Regions from separate parts of the Homo sapiens genome. Here region 2 is linked to region 1. Evidence: promoter capture Hi-C in 16 types of primary human blood cells and fetal thymus (Javierre and others, 2016). All regions are on one chromosome and are shown on one strand. The core of a region is centred on a gene start or on the middle of the fragment in contact, and the rest is flanking DNA. Distances in the headings are between cores, read along the strand shown.

Region 1 (2,700 bases), core at 98-2,597:
TTCTCGGTGGCTGAGTCGAAGGGTGGAGGGGCCGGGGCTGTGGCTTTCTTCAGGCTTTAAGGCCTGGGGCGGCGGATGCGTCCAGGGCTCGGATGCCCGCGGTGGAGAAAGGGCTCCCAGCCCGGTGAGGCGGAGGGCTCGGCTGACCCGGGGCTCGCTGCCAGGAACCGAGCAACCAGCGTGGGGTTAGCTGGGCCCAGGTCCCACTAGGGGCTTCGGGGTCGGAGCAGAGTCTGAGAGAGGCTGAATTTCCCCCGAGCTCGGAGACGGACCCGGACGCAGAAGAGCGAGAGCGCGGGGCGGAGGAGACCGCCAGGGCCAAGCCGCGGGGCCTCCTCTGCGCTGGGACTCAGAACGGTTGGGGCTATTCTTTAGCAGTATGTTTTCGTTTTATTTCATTCGGAGGATTTTAGCGTTTTTGTTTTAAAAAAAAATCGCTCCGGTGCCAAACGAGAAAAGTCAACTTGGTTGTCCGTGGGAGCGAAGCGTGGCGTCAGGGCCAGAACCTGGAGCCGGGAGCCGGGAGCCGGGAGTCCCCAGCTCTGCTCTGATCCGTGCAGTCCCGTGCCCCAGCCCGCCCGCCCGCCCGCGCGCCTTCCAGCCGGCCGGCAGCCCTACCTCCCGGACTTGGTGATGACCATCTCCGTGCCTAGCTTGTGGAACTGGTCCCACAGCTCCTTGGCCTCCAGCGTCACCTTGGGGTCGTCCTCCACCTCGTCCTCGGGCTCCAGGCTCTTGAGGGAGCGCAGATGCGCGGCGGGCGGGTGCGGGCCCAGTGCCGAGACGTGCAGCCCCGCCTCGGCCGCTGCTGCCGCCGCCGCCGCCGCGGCCGCCGCCCCCGCCAGGCCCGGGTCGGGCAGCGGCTTGGCCAGCGCGCCGGGCGGCAGCGCGAGTGCCGGGAAGAAGGAGGGCTGCGCCGCCGCCAGAAAGGCGGACATGGGGAAGTCGGCGGGCCGTGGCGCGTGGAACGGGTGGTAAGCCATGGCGCTGGCCGCCAGCGCCGGCTCTCTCATCGGGACATCCGGCCCAGGCGCCCGGGGGCCGGGGCCGGGGCCGGGGGCGCGCGGCTCGGACCCCCGGCCCGGGCGGCGGCGCGCGCGGTGGACGGACGACCCGGGTGGCGGGCGCAGCAGCTGCTCCTCGGGGCTTCCCGTCCGGCGCACCGCAAGGGGCACCCGGCTCTGTGCGCGGGGGCGGCGGGGGCTCTGCGCGGGGCCGGGCTGGGCCGGGCTGAGCTGGCCCGCTCCGGCGCCGGGGACCACGCGCGACTGGTTAGATCTTGTCGTGATCTCTGGAAAACTGTGACTATCTCACATGTCCTGCCCAGCTCGGATCCCCTGCGCTAACGAGCCAGGCCCCCCTTGATTGCTGATTTTACGCTTTTTGGACCAATTGTGGGTCTCCGGGGGCGGGGTTTTGACAGCTCAGGCCAAGCTCCGGCCGGGAGGGGGGGCCTGGGAGAAGGTGTCGGAAGCCTCAGCAGTAAGAAAACATGTCAACAGAATAAAATATTAACCAATGACGGGCCGCCGGGCCCCGAGACCCCTCCTCCTGCCCCGGCCCCCACCGCCCGCCCGCGCCTGCGGCTGCCTGCGCCGGACTGGAGAGCGCGGAGGGCCGACCTGACCCGCCGAAAGGGCCTGAGGCGAGGGGAGCCCGGGTCCCGGGGCCTTGGGGAAGGACCCGCAGCCGCACGCCGGCCCCAAGTGCAAAGCATTGACACGACCCCGAGCGGAGAGGGGGCGCCCTCCTTCTCCCGCGCCCAGAGGCCCGGCCGCTCTGGCCCGAGCCCCAGCCTGGCCTCCGACCCAGCTCCGGGTCGTGGCGCCGCCTGGGGGTCCCTGCGCCCCGGAAAGAGACAGCAGGCACTGGAAAGCGAGGCCGGTGGGCGGGCGAGTCGGGAGGCTCGGGCGGCCGAGGTCCGGGAGCGGATCCCAGGTGGCGGGAGCTGGTGAGTGGAGCCATGGCCGAGCCCTGCTGGGGCCGGCGCGGGCGGGAGCGGGACGCGGCCTTGCGCTGGGGAAACGCGGGGACCCCCTACCCGCGCCCGCCTTCACCGGAAGACTCGGAAGGAACCTGGAGTTCTCCGCAGGCCCGGGCCCCGCCCTGAGCTTTCCAGCGGCCGGGAGGAGCGGATCCTCGGGGCCAGGAAGGTGAGCGCACCTTTCGCTGAGCACAGGGCGGCACCGCGCGGGCGGACCCCGGATTCTCCACCCGCGACCCAACGAATTTTCGCCCTATCCGGTACCGGAGACGAAAGTCTCCTTCTTCCGAAATACCGGCTTCCTCTCTTCGCCCTGCCAACCACTTTTTTAGTTTCTTCTCATCTCTCGGAAGCGCACGTCTCCTAAGTTAAGGAGTGCTGAGTAACGCGTGAGGGAGTTGGGGTGTCTGCGAGCACCTGTGATTGAAGCCCCCTCTTCTGTGATCAGTCTTCGTTTTCTGTCTTCCGGCAGCCTCAGTTTCCCCCCCATGAAGTGATGGTGTGTGTGTGTGTGTGTGTGTGTGTGTGTGTGTGTGTGTGTGTGTCGGGCCCCGTGTGGTGCCCTCTGTGCGCAGCGAGAGCTATAACTCAAGGTGTGCACGGGGAGAGTGAAGCGACCACGCACCTGCTTCCAATCGGGCTCGGGCGCGAACACTCAGGCTGATTCCTGAAGGTCGTTTTCTGAAGGAAAAGACAGAGCATGCACTAGCCACGGG
Region 2 (2,700 bases), core at 100-2,599, 160 kb before region 1:
TCTATTCAGCATATTATATTGAGATTATGCATGTATATATAGAGGACATATCTTCATTTTTGTATCATCAGTGGAGCTGAACAGAATGCATGTATTGGTAGGTCTTTTTAAGTAAACATATATAGTTCAGTAGGTATATTTTCCTGTTTACAACTTTACTACTTTTTAGCAGAGTGCCATTGGGCAAATCTTTGAAACTGTTTTTTAAATCTTTTTTTTCTTTCTTTCTTTTTAGATGGAGTCTCACTCTGTCACCCGGGCTAGAGTGCAGTGATGCAATCTTGGCTCACTGCAACCTCTGCCTCCCGGGTTCAAGCAATTCTCCTCCTGCCTCAGCCTCCTGAGTAGCTAGGATTACAGGCACCCACCACCATGCCCAGCTAATTTTTGTATTTTAGTAGAGATGGGGTTTTACCATGTTGGCCAGGCTGGTTTTGAACTCCTGACCTCAGGTGATCCACCCGCCTTGGCCTCCCAAAGTGCTGGGATTACAGGCATGAGCCACCATGCTCGGCCTTTTTTCATCTTTAAAATAAGGTAATGGCTCATAGTACTGCTATAGCACAAGTATTCTTCTAAGTATTTTGCATGTGCACGCAACAATGCTCTGAATGTTTATAGCAGCATTATTCATAAGTGCCAAAAATTGAAAGTAAGCAAGACTTTCAAAGGGTGAATGGATAAACTGGTACATCCATACAGAGGAATATTATTCAGCAATTACTGAAAAAGAACCAGGAGATATACGTATCTTCCACTCAATCTTACGGTGAAACTAAAACTACTGTAAAAAACAAACTCTGTTAAAAAAGAAAAAAAAAGAGCTATCAAGCCACCAAAAGACTTGGAGGTATCTTAAATGCGTATTGCTAAGTGAAAAAAGCCAGCTGAATGTATGATTCAGCCAGCTGTATGATTCTAACTATATCACATCTGGGAAGGCAAAACTGTAAGATGGTAAAAAGATCATTGGTTTCGCTGGAAGGAGGAAGGGGTTCACAGATGGAACACAGAGGATGTTTAGGGCAGTTAATCTATTGTGTGTGATACTGTAATGGTAAATGCATGACACTACGCATTTGTCAAAACCCAGAGAATTGTACAACAGAAAGAGTGAGCCCTAATGCAAACTATGAATTTTGATAATAATTGGTCAATATTGATTCATCAGTTGTAACAATGTATCACACTGGGTGCAAAATGTTAATAATAGGAGAAACTTTGTGCACCTGAGGCAAGTGGTATTCGGGACTCTGCACAATTTTTCTACAAACCTAACCATGATGCTATGCTGCCTCTCAAATATTACCATACATATTGTGGCCAGGCACAGTGGCTCATGCCTGTAATCCCAGCACTTTGGGAGGCCGAGGCGGGCGGATCGTGACGTCAAGAGTTCGAGACCAGCCTGGCCAACGTGATGAAACCCTGTCTCTACTAAAAACACAAAAATTAGCCAGGCGTGGTGGTGGGCACCTGTAATCCCAGCTACTCAGGAGGCTGAGGCAGGAGAATCCCTTGAACCTGGGAGGTGGAAGTTGCAGTGAGCCGAGATTGTGCCACAGCACTCCAGCCTGGGTGACAGAGCAAGACTCCGTCTCAAAACAAACAAACAAACAAACAAACAAATATTGTCTGTGTGTCCTCACTAGAGGTGAATTTTGTCACGAAAACCTTCCCACTTACATCGCTTGTGTCTGAAACTATATTTGCCTTAATCAAAGCGGGTTTATTGGCTGGGGATGGTAGCTCACAACTGTAATCTCAGCACTTTGGGAAGCCGAGGCAGGAGGATCATTTGACCCCAGAAGTTCAAGAACAGCCTGGACAACATAGGGAGACCCCATTTTTACAAAAAGTAAATCATCAGCTGGGCATGGTGGCATGTGCCTGTGGTCCCAGCTACTCAGGAGGCTGAGGTAGAAAGGCTCACTTGAGGCTGGGAGAACGAGGCTGCAGTAACTTATCATTGCACCCCTGTACTTCAGCCTGGGCAACACTGCAAGACCTGTCTCAAAGAGAGAGAGGGAGAGAGAAACAACTCCTCCCACCGCAAAAACAAACAAACAAACAAACAAACAAGCAAACACAAAGTGGGTTTATTCCAGTTGGAACCAAAGGAAAGTGTTACAAAGCAAAATATACCTGTCATGCAAGTGAGGACGTTCAGGATTGGCACCTATAAATAACCTGGTAGCCTCCTTAATACGCATGGGTTTAACAATAGAAGCACACACATATACTGAAGGTACATGTGTACATATATGAATGCTGTAATCAGTATAAGAAACCAATGAAAAAATTGATTGTGATTTAGAAGTTGAAGCATCCAGTTTCTTATTAATTCATTACTTTTTAAATAAGAAATTCCAGAATTACATCCTCTTCTGAAGAATTACAGCATGCGAATTACAGCCAGAGATATTTTTTAAAGTCTTAAATTGGGAACCACAGCTTAGCGGAAATAGGGAGATATGAGTTCCAAACGTCCTGACTGTGGGGAGGTTAGGTGAGAAAATAGAGTGATTTCATTTTAGTGCTGGTTTGTAACATTTAATTTCCTTTTATAAAAGTAGTTTGACCTTTGTGGAACACGGGAAATGTAAAGGGACTGAAAAAAAGACCCAAGGGTTCTTTCCCACCCTTCCAGAACCGTCTTCTCCAAAGGTCCTTAGAACAGACCACCTGTTTTAGCATTAC

Evidence for each region. Contacts are between HindIII fragments. The CHiCAGO score rates a contact against its expected background, and 5 or more counts as called.
Region 2: a contact is called between a fragment that was not itself captured here and the fragment with the promoter of TBX2 in region 1, in 1 of 17 cell types (M2 macrophages). The highest score is 5.3, in M2 macrophages.

The regions. Positions count from the first base shown.
Region 1 is chr17:61,398,490-61,401,189 of GRCh38, reverse strand. TBX2 (T-box transcription factor 2) reads right to left here and starts at 1,347. Exons shown (of 7, transcript NM_005994.4): 1 at 619-1,347. The coding sequence starts at 1,013. TBX2-AS1 (TBX2 antisense RNA 1) reads left to right here and starts at 1,584. Exons shown (of 2, transcript NR_125751.1): 1 at 1,584-1,951. RefSeq lists a cis regulatory region at 1,263-1,274 and promoters at 1,263-1,510, 1,130-2,390. The HindIII fragment of the contact is 11,976 bases long and covers 1-2,700 here.
Region 2 is chr17:61,561,832-61,564,531 of GRCh38, reverse strand. No RefSeq gene overlaps it. Among named protein-coding and RNA genes, the nearest start is that of NACA2, 28 kb to the left of the region's middle. The HindIII fragment of the contact is 5,695 bases long and covers 1-2,700 here.